2 separate regions of the Homo sapiens genome follow, and region 1 is linked to region 2. Evidence: promoter capture Hi-C in human tissues and cell types (Jung and others, 2019). All regions are on one chromosome and are shown on one strand. The core of a region is centred on a gene start or on the middle of the fragment in contact, and the rest is flanking DNA. Distances in the headings are between cores, read along the strand shown. Region 1 has its middle 38 kb from the start of ADAM2. Region 2 holds the start of ADAM2 (ADAM metallopeptidase domain 2).

The links. Contacts are between HindIII fragments. The study calls those that stand out against the background at their distance.
Region 1: a fragment that was not itself captured here is called in contact with the fragment with the promoter of ADAM2 in region 2 in 2 of the 25 tissues and cell types used here (aorta and small bowel).

What each region holds. Positions count from the first base shown.
Region 1 is chr8:39,872,139-39,879,635 of GRCh38, forward strand. No RefSeq gene overlaps it. Among named protein-coding and RNA genes, the nearest start is that of ADAM2, 38 kb to the left of the region's middle. The HindIII fragment of the contact is 5,127 bases long and covers 616-5,742 here.
Region 2 is chr8:39,833,368-39,840,257 of GRCh38, forward strand. ADAM2 (ADAM metallopeptidase domain 2) reads right to left here and starts at 4,860. Exons shown (of 21, transcript NM_001464.5): 1 at 4,764-4,860; 2 at 3,769-3,845; 3 at 577-632. The coding sequence starts at 4,818. The HindIII fragment of the contact is 9,732 bases long and covers 718-6,890 here.

The DNA.
Region 1 (7,497 bases), core at 1,929-4,428, 37 kb after region 2:
TGTTTCCTGGAGCTTGTTTTAACTTTGGGAAGCATGGTCATACTAAAAAAGAATGTAGAAAAAATCAGTGAGTCAGGCTGCCAGATATGGAAAAAAAGAAAACTGCTGAGTCTGAAATATGTCCAAAATGTAAAAAAGGAAAACATTGGGCTAATCAGTGTCACTCTAAGTTTGATAAAGATGGGAACCCGATTTCAGGAAATGTCATAAGGGGCCCATCCTGGGCCCCTTTCCAAACCAGGGCATTTCCAGCTCAGGCCATTCCCTCACCCCTGTACAATATCTGTCCCCCACCACAGCTGGTAGTGCTGCAGTAGATTTATGCTGCACAAAAGATGTGAGCCTTCTGCCTGGGAACCCCCGCAGAAGGTTCCAACAGGAGTCTGTGGACCCTTGCCAGCAGGGACGTTAGGATTACTTCTCGGCAGGTCTAATTTAAATTTAAAAGGGGTAAAAATACATACAGGAGTCATTGATTCAGACTACAATGGGGGAAATTGAAATTGTTATATCTACTTCTGTTCTCTGGAAAGCAAAGCCAGGAGAGCGTACAGCACAGCTCCTGATTGTGCCGTATGTGGAAATGGGGAAAAGTGAAATGAAATGAACAGGAGGAGCCAGGCTCGGTGTCTCATGCCTGTAATCCCAGCACTTTGGGAGGCCAAGGTGGGCAGATAACAGGGTCAGGAGATCAACACCATCCTGGCTAACACAGTGAAACCCCGTCTCTACTAAAAAATACAAAAAAAATTAGCTGAGCGTGGTGGCAGGTGCCTGTTATCTCAGCTACTGAGGAGGCTGAGGTAGTAGAATGGTGTGAACCTGGGAGGCGGAGCTTGCAGTCAGTGGAGATTGCCCCACTGCACTGCAGCCTGGGTGACAGAGCAAGACTCCATCTCAAAAACAAACAAACAAACAAAAAAATGAACAGGAGGATTTGTAAGCACAAATACACAAGGTAAAGCAGCTTGTTGGGTGAATCAAATTACTGATAAACATCCTACCTGTGAAATAACTATTCAAGGAAAGAAATTTAAAGGTTTGGTAGATACAGGAGGACATTTCAATCATTTCTGTACAGTAGTGGCCATCCATGTGGCCAATTCAACCCACTCAATTTAACACAGTTGGAGTTGGCAAAGCCCCTGAAATATATCAAAGTAGTTATATTTTGCACTGTGAAGGGCCCGATGGACAACCTGGGACTATTCAACCAATTATAACTTCTGTACCTATAAATTTATGGGGGAGAGATTTGTTACAACAATGGGGAGCACAAGTTCTAATTCCAGAACAATTATACAGCCCTCAAAGTCAACATATGATGCATGAAATGGGATATGTCTGTGGTATGGGACTAGGAAAAAATTTGCAAGGTTTAAAGGAACCACTTCAAGGGGAAAGACAAAGTTCCTGCCAAGGTTTAGGATATCATTTTTGATGATGCCATTGTTAAGTCTCCAGAACCTATATCTTTAAAATGGTTAACAGAAAAGCCAATTTGGATAGAAGAATGACCACAGAGTAAAGAGAAACTGAAGGCTTTAGAGGACTTAAAATTGGCCTTTAATAGTCATAGATTTAAAGACTGTTTCTTTACTATCCCCTTAGCTGAGCAAGACTGTGAAAGGTTTGCGTTTACAATTCCTGCGGTAAATAACCTGCAGCCTGCTAAGAGTTTTCATGTTCCACAGATGGGTCTAGTAAAGGTAAAGCTTCTTATTCTGGCTCAAAAACTAAAGTTTTCCAGATGCCCTATACTGCAGCTCAAAAAGCGGAGCTTGTAGCTGTAATTGAGATATTGATTGCTTTCAATATGCCTATTAAAGTGATTTCTGAGTCTTCATACATGGCTCATTCCACACAGTTAATTGAAAATGCTGTTACGATTTCATACAGATAATCAACTGATGACAAAAACAAAAAAGGGGGAGAAACAGGGATTAAGGGGCAGTTCACACACAATTGAATCTAGCATTATTAACTTTAAATTTTTTGAGCCTGCCCAAAGGCCAGATGTTATCAGCAGCTTAACAGCATCTACAGAAACCAGCTGCAAAGACAGAAGCAAAACAATTGGTTTGGTGGACAGATCTGATAACAAAAAGTTGGGAAATAGATAAAATAATAACTTAGGGTAGAGGTTATGCTTGTGTTTCTCCAGGCCAAAATCAACAGCCAATTTGGATACCATCAAGACATCTGAAAACTTATCATGAGCCAGATGCTGAGGAAGAGATTCCAGGAGCATCCCAAGGACCTCTTGGTTGCAGCCATGTCGAGGCTGATGCTGAGGAGGACCCCAACTGTCATGTGCAACACCCATCGAACACAGCCTCCCACCTGGGGACAGATCAAGAAACTGTCACAGATGGCAGAAGAAAACCTGAGGAAAGTGGGGCAAACAGTCACAATGAGTAATTTAATGGTAGCTATGACACCGGTGATCACCATTGCCATGAGTATTCCTTCAACAAGGGCTGACACAGAGAACAGTTATACTTATTGGGCATATTTATCAATCTTGGCTGGCAATAATGCCTGAATGTAATCACTCCGTGACACAGTTACACATGCTTTCTGGTCTCAGTATTTACCATAATAAATCTGCTCCTATAATTGAGGCATACTGCCCTCAAAAACCTATTTGTAAACAAAATAGAACCTGGCCAGAAATAATGAATGTTCTTGTTTAGGAAGATTGCATTGCAGAACAGGCAGAGGTGCTGTGCAACGATTCCTATGGAATCATTATTGATCGGTCCCCTAAGGGGATGTTTAGCTTAAATTGCACCACTCAGTCTGTGTGCCATGGCCACACTATGTTCAGCTGGTCTGAACAAAATGGTCAGATGGTAGAAATGGAAAGAAGTATGGCAAGAATTCTATTATCTGGAACCATGGCTGTATAGTGACACCTCAACCTCAAATGATATGGCCTGCTCTAGGAGCTTAATGTAAGGATTTGTGGAAACCATTAATAGCTCTTAATAAGATCAAAATTTGGGAAAGAATAAAAAAGCATTTAGAAGGACACTCTACAAACTTGTCTTTGGATATTGCAAAATTAAAGAACAAATATTTAAAACATCCCAGGCACACCTGACCTTAATGCCAGGAACTGGAGTGCTTGAAGGAGCTGCAGACTGATTAGCAGCTAGTAACTGATTAAAATGGATAAAAACACTGGGAAGCTCTGTGATTCCAATAATGATTGTACCTTTAATCTGTGTTGTTTGTCTTTGTATAGTCTGCAGATGCAGATCCTGACTCCTGCAAGAAGTAGCTCACTGTGACAAAGCTGCCTTTGCTTTTATCACTTTGCAAATCAAATAAGGGGGACATGTTGGGAACAGGACCGCCCCCCCCCCCAAAATCTGGCCATTAACTGGCCCTAAAACTGGCCATAAACAAAATCTCTGCAGCACTGTGACATGTTCATGATGGCCATAATGCCCACGCTGGAAGGTTGCGGGTTTACCAGAATGAGGGCAAGGAACACCTGGCCCACCCAGGGCAGAAAACCACTTAAAGGCATTGTTAAACTACAAGCAATAGCATGAGTGATCTGTGCCTTAAGGACATGCTCCTGCTGCAGATAACTAGCCAAAGCCATCCCTTTATTTCGGCCATCCTTTTGTTTCCCATAAGGAATACTTTTAGTTCATCTATATTCCAATCTATAGAAACAATGCTTATCACTGGCTTGCTGTCAATAAATACGTGGGTAAATCTCTGTTCAAGGCTCTCAGCTCTGAAGGCTGTGAGACCCCTGATTTCCCACTCCACATCTCTATATTTCTGTGTGTGTCTTTAATTCCTCTAGTGCCACTGGGTTAGGGTCTCCCTGACCCAGCTGGTCTCGGCATGTTACAGCTCTTAACTGTGGTGCGTCCAGAGTTGTTTGTTCCTCCCAGTGGGTTTGAAGCCACAGATCTTCTCAGTGAGTGTTACAGCTCTTAAAGGTGGCATGTCTGGAGTTGTTTGTTCCTCCTGGTGGGTTTGTGGTCTCGCTGACTTCAGGAGTGAAGCCACAGACCTTCGCAGTGAGTGTTACAGCTCATAAAGGTAGTGTGGACCCAAAGAGTGAGCAGCAGCAAGATTTATGGTGAAGAGTGAAAGAACAAAGCTTCCACAGGATGGAAGGGGACCTGAGAGGGTTGCCACTGCCGGCTTGGGTGGCCAGCTTTTATTCCATTGTTTGGCCCCACCCATATCCTGCTGATTGGTCCATTTTATGGAACACTGATTGGTCCATTTTACAGAGTGCTGATTGGTCCATTTTTACAGAGTGCTGATTGGTGCATTTACAAACCTTTAGCTAGACACAGAGCACTGATTGGTGTGTTTTTACAGAGTGCTGTTTGGTGCATTTATAAACCTTTAGCTAGACACAGAGCACTGATTTGTGTGTTTACAATCCTGTAGCTAGACAAAAAAGTTATCCAAGTCCCCACCCAATCCAGAAGCCCAGCCGACTTCACCTCTCAATCCCCCCTCTAAACAGGACATCCTAACTGCTGTTGGGAATTGGGGGATGACCAGTCTAGCTACTTCCTGCTGGATAGGGGCAAAGAAGGGGCCCTGCAGTTATAGTGTCCTCCAGAGGGGAACTCTTTAGGCCAGTGAAAGGGTCAGTGGGTCAGTCCAAGAGTCCTTGGTGGAAGATGTTAGTTGAGCTCATTTGGCATTCCATTTGTGAGACCATCTGTAGCTTGATGGCCTTGATCCTAGAGGAAACAAATTTGACAAAGAGGCTAAAAATACAGGGCCTGAAGGTGAGTAATAGCAAGATGGCTGCCATGGGACCTAGGAAGGGGAGAAGCCATGTTACCAACCTCAGAAGTTGGTATAAGAATTTGAAAGGTGTTGTCTGATTTCAGAAGCATTTTCCTGTAAATGTTGGGCAGCATCTCATACTATCCCTGACTGGTTAGTGTAAAAACAACACTCTTCCCCTAAGAAGGTGCAGAGTCCTCCTTTCTCAGCAGTGAGGAGGTCTAGGTCTTGGTGATTTGGAGAGTCACTGCTGCCAAAGAGTCTATTTGGGATTGTAGAGTAAGGATAGATTTCGTTATTTCTTGCAAACTGTCTGAGAAATCCTTTGAGAGTGTGTGGTAGTAGGATAATGAAGTAGATAAATCGGCTATTCTGGTTCCTGTAGCAGTAGCCATTCCCAACCCTATAAGTAGAGGTATTAGTTGTATGGCTCTGCACTGATGGACTTGAGCTTTGAGGGGTACCGATAGGGTCTGATTTCCTGGGGCAATGTTAATGTTGGGACTTAGAAAGACTAAGGTGCAGGTGCCTGTCCAGTTAGTGGAGAGGCAGATATAGGTCAACATTCCACATAAGAATATACCTTGGCTGGGTAGACAGAACTGGTTGTGTATGTTAAAAAGGTGTGTGACTTTGTTGTTTTCATTTTCCCATACTCCTAGAGTACTTGCCAAGGTAGCTCTGCTGAGCAGCTGGAAAAGAGTGTTGGGAGTAAACTGAGTGGCTCCCTGTGTTCTATTTTCCCATTGGAGAAAAAACCATTTTGTATCTACTAGGAACCATTAGAGAGAGTGATTGAAAGAGGGGATGAGAAGGCATTCATTAGTGGTGGGGGCCCTGCTGCAAGGGGTCCAGGGGTGAATGTTCAGGCTGGGAGTAAGTTTGCCATTATAAAACCTGGACTGTTCGTTAAGCAGGGAGGAGGTGATGATTTTTGCGGGCCCTGAGAAGTAGACAAGCCATCTGAATGGAGCTCTTTGGGTGACTCAGAAGTTACTATGATCAGTTGGGGCTTGAAGTTGTAGAGTGTAATTACACAGATGGGGTAGTAGGTGCCCCAGGGGCAGACCTGATAACAGGTTGTGTTGGATGCATAAAGGGGCTTGGAAAGTTAAGATCGTATTCATGGTAACAGGGCCGTGTATGGGCTTTTCATTGCTTGTGTAATAGGTGAGGTTGGAAATGTAAGAACATAAAAGTTGGATTGCACATCTTGTTAGGGTATTCTTGGCCCTATCAGAGATGGAGAAGTTGGCTAATGATTGCATATTTAGAAGTCTGAAAGGGTCTTTCCCTTCGTAATGAGGGTGGTAGGTTAAGTTGTTAAAGACCCAATGTTTTGTGGGAATGGGAGTGGCAACGTAAGCAGAGGTTGATAGAGAGACACAAAGACAACAGTCATTTGCCAGGGAAGGATTGGACTGGTTTAACAGAGAGTGGGTTAAGTTGAGAGTCTTGTAGAGGCAATTAGGAGCTAGTGGAAAGGGAGGGGTGATTGTATGAGGTATCCAAGGAAGCAGGAGGTATAGGTAAGCAAAGAGTAAATAGGAAGGTAAAGAGTGTGCTCTGGAAGACGAAATCATTTTATCCAGGCTGAGTTAAAGGTAGGAGTAAATTGCAGTCAGAAGGAAGGAAGATAGAAATAAGGTTGATGTGATTAGGATTTTTGTCCCAGCAGGAACTACAGTATATAGCCCTATCACAAAGAGTATGGTTAGTATGCTGCTTAATAATATAATGAAATAGTAAAAGGATTCCATTAAAGGGGTAAGGAGGGGTGTTAAAGATAAAGATTATGTAGGTTTTCACTTATCTTTTTTAAGGAGGATGGAGTTTTTCTTCAGGATCAGTGGTAGGAGCCTTTTTAGTCTGGGATATTTCCTTCTGAAATAGGAGATGCAAGTCCTCTAATGGTTCTCAGGTTTATCGAGGCTGGTCTGGCTGATCTTGGGACTCCTGAGCTGACAGTCCCACAGGTTCCTCAGGGGGTGTCCAAAATTTAACTCAGGTGTGGTGAATCCAAGATTCCACTCCTGCCACCTTAACTGCAGTGGGGGTAGAGAGGATTACTGAGTATGGTCCTTCCCACAGAGTCCATAGATGGGGAGGTAGAGGGGAGAGATTTGACCTACGCTAGATCTCCTGGTTGAAACAACTCTGTTCCCTTTTCTCTGGACATCCTTCAGAGCTATCCCTGCTCTCTCTGTGACATAGATTTTAAAGGTTTTGTTGATATTTTGAAGAAGTTATATCTTTGACCATGTTGGCCATATTCTGATCAAGTAGGAGGTCATTTGTGAGAAAAGATCATCCATACAGCATTTCATATGGACTGAGCCCATTTTGCAAGGAAAATTTTGGATTCTCAACAAGTCCATGAGGAAAAGAGTAGGCCATGGGAGATGAGTTTCTTGTGTTAGTTTCCTTAAGTGCCTCTTGAGTGTTTCATTGGCCTTCTCAATCTTCCCTGAGGATTGTGGCCTCCAGGTGCAGTGAAGGTGATATTGTATCCCAGCGCCCTGGAAATTCCCTGAGTTATCGTGGCTTTAAAAGTTGGACCATTGTCAGTCTGTAAGCTTTGGGGAAGCCCAAATCTAGGAATTATTTCATGAATTAGGACTTTAATCACTTCCTGAGCCTTCTCTGTCTTGCAGGGGAAAGCTTCTATCCAATTTGTAAAGGTATCAACACAGACCAACAAGTTTTGAAATCCCTTTG
Region 2 (6,890 bases), core at 3,610-6,109:
TGCTTTTGATAATTTGTAGAAATCTGTTCTTATCACTAGAAGAATCATTTCAATTTTCACTTTTCTTTATTTCTTAGTATATTGTGCTTGTTTTCCCCAAATTCATCAACTGGCCTGAGATTGAATTTGGCTAATTACAAATTTTATTTAATTTTAACTTAAGTCCTTAATAAGTTTTGATAAAGTATGTAAACTAGTTTAAAATGTGTCATGATTCATGACATCCAGCAATCTGCTATGTTCTTTGAAATATACCTTGAATATAAAAGAACTTAAAAATAAGCCATATATATTTTTATGAGAGATAGAAAATTATCAAAATTCATCCTTTATGAAACCTCTTGGATCACCAAATAAAAATTTGGTGCTACTGGGAACAAGAAGGAGGGGCACATACACTCTGAATTCAAGTTCTAGGTATGTATCATATATAGGCTTAAATCATATGATAAGGGATGAATGAATGGCAAGAAGCTAGAAATATTTTCAAATACAAAATAATTACATTCTGGACAATTTCAAGCAAAAATTATAAGTAGAACAAAGAGAATTGATAAAATAATGATGATTACCTACTTTTGCATTAAATTCACAGTATATGGTTTCCCTTCAATTACAATTTTGTAGGATGCCTGGCAGGAGAGCACAGTAAAAATACAAAGAAAATGAAAAAAAATGTTAGAAGGGATAACCATCATTTTACATTAATGATAATTGCATTCTAAAACACATTCATTTAATAAAAGGAGAAAAAATAGAATTTAATGCTGATTTATTTTAATGGCATTTGACATTATAATTCTAGATTTCATAATCAAAATAATGAATAAAATAATATATATACTTTATTTGTTTATTTTGAAATGTGTATGTTGATTTTATGACCTGCAACTTTATTGAATTCTGTTTGATCTAAGAGATTTATGGTGGAGTCTGGGGTTTTCTATATATGGGATCATGTCATGTGCTAATAAAGATATTTGACTTCCTTCTGATTTTGGATGCTGTTTATATCTTTACCTCTGCCCTTGATAGTTAGTACTATCAGTACTATGTTGAGAGTGGGAATCCTTGTCTTGTACCACATCTTAAAGGAAAACCTCACGCCTATTATCCCAGCACTTTGGGAAGCCAAGGCAGGCGGATCATGAGGTCAAGATTTTGAGACCAGCCTGACCAACATGGTGAAACCCCATCTCTACTAAAAGATGCAAAAAATTAGCCGGGCATGGGGCGGTTGCCTGTAATCCCAGATACTGGGGAGGCCGAGACAGGAGAATCACTTGAACCTTGGGAGGCGGAGGTTGCAGTGAGCCAAGATCACACCATTGCCCTCCAGCCTGGGCGACAGGGCAAGACTCCATCAAAAAAAAAAAAAAAAAAAAAAAAAGGTTTTAGTCCCTTTCCACTAATTATGATGTTAACTAAGGGTTTTTCATAACTGGCCTTAATTATATTCAGGTACCTTCCTTCTATACCTAAACTGTTAAGAGTTTTTAACCAAGAAAGGATGTTAGACTTTGTGGAATGCTTTTTCTGGGTCTCCTGGTGTCTTCATATCCACATGTGTCTGTGCTCAGATTCCTTGTTCTTGCAAGGACACCAGTCATATGGTATTAGAGCTGTAACTTACTATTAATTACTATTCTAGTAAACTCATTTTAATTTAATTACGTCTTTATAGACTCTGCCTCCAAATATGCTTACGTTCTGAGGCACCAGGGGTTAGGACTTCAACAAATAAACTCTGCTTTGGATTTGGGACACCTGTTCTGAAGATTCGACTTTATAAAGCCATTTCTTATTAAAATATGTTTACTATTACCTCTTCTTCTTTTCTCCCCTATTTCAGGAATGCCAATCACTCTATGCTTAAGCTTCTAATTCTGTCCTTTTCTCTTAGCCTTTCACATGTTGCATTTCATCTTTTCAGCTGTCTCTGTTCTACTCTAAATTCCTGACTTTTATATTTTCATACTGCATTTCCCACTTTTAGAAGTTACATTCAATTATTTTTAAAAATCTAGTAATTTTAGGCCATGTGCGGTGGCTCACGCCTGTAATCCCAGAACTTTGGGAGGCCGAGGCAGGTGGATCAGGAGGTCAGGAGATCGAGACCATCCTGACCAACGGTGAAACCCCGTCTCTACTAAAAATACAAAAAAACTAGCTGGGCTTGGTGGCAGGTGCCTGTAGTCCCAGCTACTCAGGAGGCTGAGGCAGGAGAATGCTGTGAACCTGGGAGGCGGAGCTTGCAGTGAGCCGAGGTTGCGCCACTGCACTCCAGCCTGGGCAACAAGCAAGACTCCGTCTCAAAAAAAAAAAAAAATCTAGTAATTTTAGGTTGAATAATCTTATGGTTTCTAGCCTTTATTAACTGTAATAATTCAAAATATATAGTTTCATATTATGTTTATAGTATTTGTTGAATTAATTAGCATAATAGCCTAGTTTGTTTTAAAAATACTGTTAATTCATTACAGTATTTTAAAAATAAACTAGGCTATTATGCTAATTGTGTATTTAACTCCCTTTAACTCCTTAACTCCCATTAACTCCCTAAGCAACTGACGGTCAACAATTATCCCTTGCACTATTTTTTTGTTGGTGGTGGTGCTTTGTTTTGGTTTTGGTAACCACAAAATCAAAAAGGAACTTTTTGATGACCAGCTATTCCAAGTTTCTCATTTACAAATGAGAAAATAATGAGCCTGATTAGTGCACAAAAGCATAAATACACATAGCATTTGTATCTGACACTGTTCTAGGCAAGAAGAATACAGACATTAACAAAATAGACAATTTTTTCCTCATGAATTTGACAGTTGAAAATGGGCATTTTTTTTTACTTATTGCAAATAACTATCTTATAACAATCAAGTTATTCTTGTTTGAAATACTTCTCTCCAAATAGATTCTCTGCTTATTTTCTACTATTATTAACATCTCCATAATAATTTTACATTAAAAATGTTTCATAAAATATTGTTAAAAGCCTCACTGCTTTTTTCTATTTAAATGATTTGTTTTAGTAATAGATATATAGATATGCATTCCTTTAAAAATGATTTAAATAACATCTTAAGCTATAATGTCTGTATTAGGATGACAAATGGATATATGCTAAGGAAATGTTTGCATTTAAATTACCAGAACATCTGCTACCAAACCAAAAAAAAAAAATTGATGTCTCAAGAAACCACATTCCACTTCAGAAATGGATTCTAGAACTTAGTGAAAATGATAAGAAGATTTTAAATTCAAATTTTAAAAAGAGAGTAATAATTCTGAACTAAAATAATCTAAAATAGCATGAAAGAAAGAGTTCTAATCATTAACATATTCGCAATCAGGGCTAAAAAAATCATTAATATAACACATCATTAATTCAAGTGATCATCATCCCATATAAGCAAGCCAAGGCTTACTTAGCAACAATGACAAAAAATTCCTCCAAATACAGCCTGAACGGTGAGTGAGAACAGAATCTCTAGAACAATCAAGCCAATGATTATTCAAAGACATCCAAGAGGAAGACAGATTCAGAAAATGGACTTGGGGCTTTGATAACCAGCATCACTGCACCATTATTTCTGTGAAACATTGTTGATCCTGGTTCATTTTCAAAAGGGCTTTTCCATTCAGGGAAAATTTGGTATAAATATAAAATTCAACAGGTGTGCATGAATGAAAAATGGCAGATTAACTTCTTAGAAACAAAATCTTTACATCATTTTAAATTTGTAAATACTGTTAGTGATTCATTACCTGCGATTCAATTCCTTCCTTTATTATTGACCGTATTTTCTCCGGAACTGTAATTTGCACAGGTAAACTATCAAAATCTGCAAAATGTGCAAAATGTTTTATTAGAACAATGCCCATCATTTCAGAGCGTGTTTTATGAGTTTTTCATCTAAATCTCTAATCTCTATTCTATACGCTGCTTCTCATTTTTATTATCTTCCCATTTCTTTCTAAAAATACAAGGAGGTTTTTTTTTCTGTTTTTCTGTTTTTTTTTTTGTTTTTGAGACGAAGTCTCACTCTGTCGCCCAGGCCCAGGCTGGAGTGCAGTGGTGAGATCTCTGCTCACTGCAACCTCCGCCTCCCGGTTTCAAGCGATTCCCCTGCCTCAGCCTCCCCAGCAGCTGGGACTACAGGCACGCACTACCACCCCCAGCTAATTTTCTATATTTTTAGTAGAGGGGGATTTCACCATGTTGGCCGGGATGGTCTCGATCTCCTGACCTCGTGATACGCCTTCCTCAGCCTCCCAAAGTGCTGGGATTACAGGCATGAGCCACCGTGCCCGGCCATATTTTTTTAAAAAAGAAGTAGGTGTATTGCTTTAGGAGTATTGCCCTGTAGGTAGGATCTGGTAACCTTGGGTCAATAGGTTCAAGCCCCTCAGGACAAATTAACTCACTCTGGACTCTTCAACTAGAGAGTACAGAAGTTGGGTCTCAACTTTCACTGTCGTGAAAAATGCAAAGCAGGATCTGAAACTACAATTTTGAAGCAACCTCTTAAGGCCTAGGACCTCCTATCTTATCTTTCCTAGGTTTCCAGGACGTGTGGGAAAGCCCTTATTCTACGTGGATTTTGGGTGGGGAAGGCGGCAATGTCGGGGATGAGCTTGGAATTGCTGAGTTGGAAACCCCTCAGGAAAGCATCCTCCCAGGGATGTCAATGTAACTTGGAGGCAAAGGGAGAGTAGCGCTGAGGGTCCCAAAAGGCCAGAGGAGGGGTTTTTCTGCTTACTACTGTCCATCCGCAGCCCGCCGAGCCCGCTGAGCAGAAACAAGACGCGCCACATGGCTTGAAGTCCTGGGTCCCAGCCGGAATAATGGCAGTTGGTGGTTACAGGGCAGTTGGAAGCGCGAGATGACGCCCCGGCCACGCAGCCTGGAAGAGGTAGGCGGCTGGGAGAGCCCAGGTGGGCTGAGGTTGGGTGTGGTGCGCTGTGGAACGTGCGAGCTCCTGAGCCCTGTCTCTTGCAGGACAAGCACTCCACTGGACGTGATGCCTAATTAAGGCAACAGCAACAACAAAATCACTTCCAACAGCTGAGGAACAGGAAGATTTATAAACACTTCTTAAGTAAAATTTCAATTGAATATATATAAACACGTATCAGGAGTTCGAGACCAGTTTCCGCAACATGGTGAAACCCCGTCTGTACTAAAAATACAAAAAAAAATTAGCCAGGCATGGTGGCGGGTGCCTGAAATCCCAGCTACTCGGGAAGCTGAGGCAGGAGAATCGCTTGAACCTAGGAGGCAGAGGTTGCAGTGAGCAGAAAGACCTTACCACTGCACTCCAGCCTGGGTGAGAGAGCGAAATTCCGTCAAAAAAAAAAAAAAAAAAAAAAAAAAGAACGAAACAAAAAACGAAAAAAAGTATATAATAAATCATAAGTTCACAGGTCAATTAATATTCAAGTGGAAAAAAAAAACAGCGTAACTAGTACCACGATGAAGAAATGAAAAAGAACCACCCAAATCCCCAGATTCCAACCTCACAACCATGACTTCTAAACAACCAAAGATTCGTTTTGTCTGTTTTTGAACTTTTCGCAAGTAGAAGCAATCACCATCTACTCTTTCATGTCTGGGTTCTTTTAATAGGATGATTGTAAGGTTCATACAAAGCAATAGTTCTGTTTTATCCTCATTGGTGTATATTACAAATTCATTAAATATAACACCACTTGTGTTTCCATTTTACTGTTAATGAATATTTTGTTTGTTTATTGTTCCAGCTATTAAAAATAATATTTAGCTATAAACATTCTTCTACATGCCTTTTGGTGTAATAAGTAAGGATTTCTACTGTGTATATTTCTAGAGTGAAGTTGTCGGATCACAGGGTATGTGTTGGTAGATACTTCCGACAAGTTTTCCAAGACTGTACTAATTTATACTCTCACCAGAAGTATATGAAAATTCCACTTCGTACACATCAATGCCTTGTTGTGTTGTTGTGTTGTCTGTAATGTTCCTTCATTGTAATGAACTTACCAACTTTTATATCAAGACATGCTGCCCTCATAAAAGAAATTAAGAAATGTTATCTCTTCGTTTAATCTTTGAAATAGTGTAATGCTGTGAATATTTATTCTTTTAATGTTTCTTAGCATTTAGAAATGGAGTGATTATGACCTGGAGTTTTCTTCATGAGAAGATTTATTTACTTTTTTATCTAATTTCTTTAAAATATTCATATTTTTTTCTTTTCGTGTTGGTTTGAGAAAGTTATGTTTCTGAAGGAATTTGTCCATTTCTTTGGGGTTGTTAAATTATTGACAAAAGTTGTTCATAATGACTTCCTCTCCTCTAGCAACTTTTTAAGGTCTATAGCACCTGCAGACATATCTCTTCTTCCATTCTCAATGTTGATAATTTGTGATGTTTCTCTTTATACTGGGTAAATAGGTCTTGGAATGTATAATTTTTATTAAGTTTTACAGGAACTCGGTTTTGGATTTCTTTATTTTTTTCTGTTGTATGTTTTCTGCTTTGTTGATTTTGTTCTTGGGTTCTTTTCCTTTTTTCTACTTTGGGCATAATGTTCCTTTTCTAGCTTCTAAGATTGGAAGTTTATATTATTTATTTTAAACATTTCTTCTTTTAACCTATGCCTTTAAACTACAAATTTCCATGTATTTCCAAATTTCTATCTATTCATTGCTTTAACTTCACCATTGTATTCTTATACTTTATTTTGATATACTTTACTTTCATTAATATTCAATTCTAAATGTTTTCTAATTTTCATCATGATTTCTTTTTGCCCCACATGTTTATTGGTGTTATTTAAATGCCACATATTTAAGCATGTATTAATTACTTTTTTATTGATGTCTAACTCAATTCCATTGTGATCATA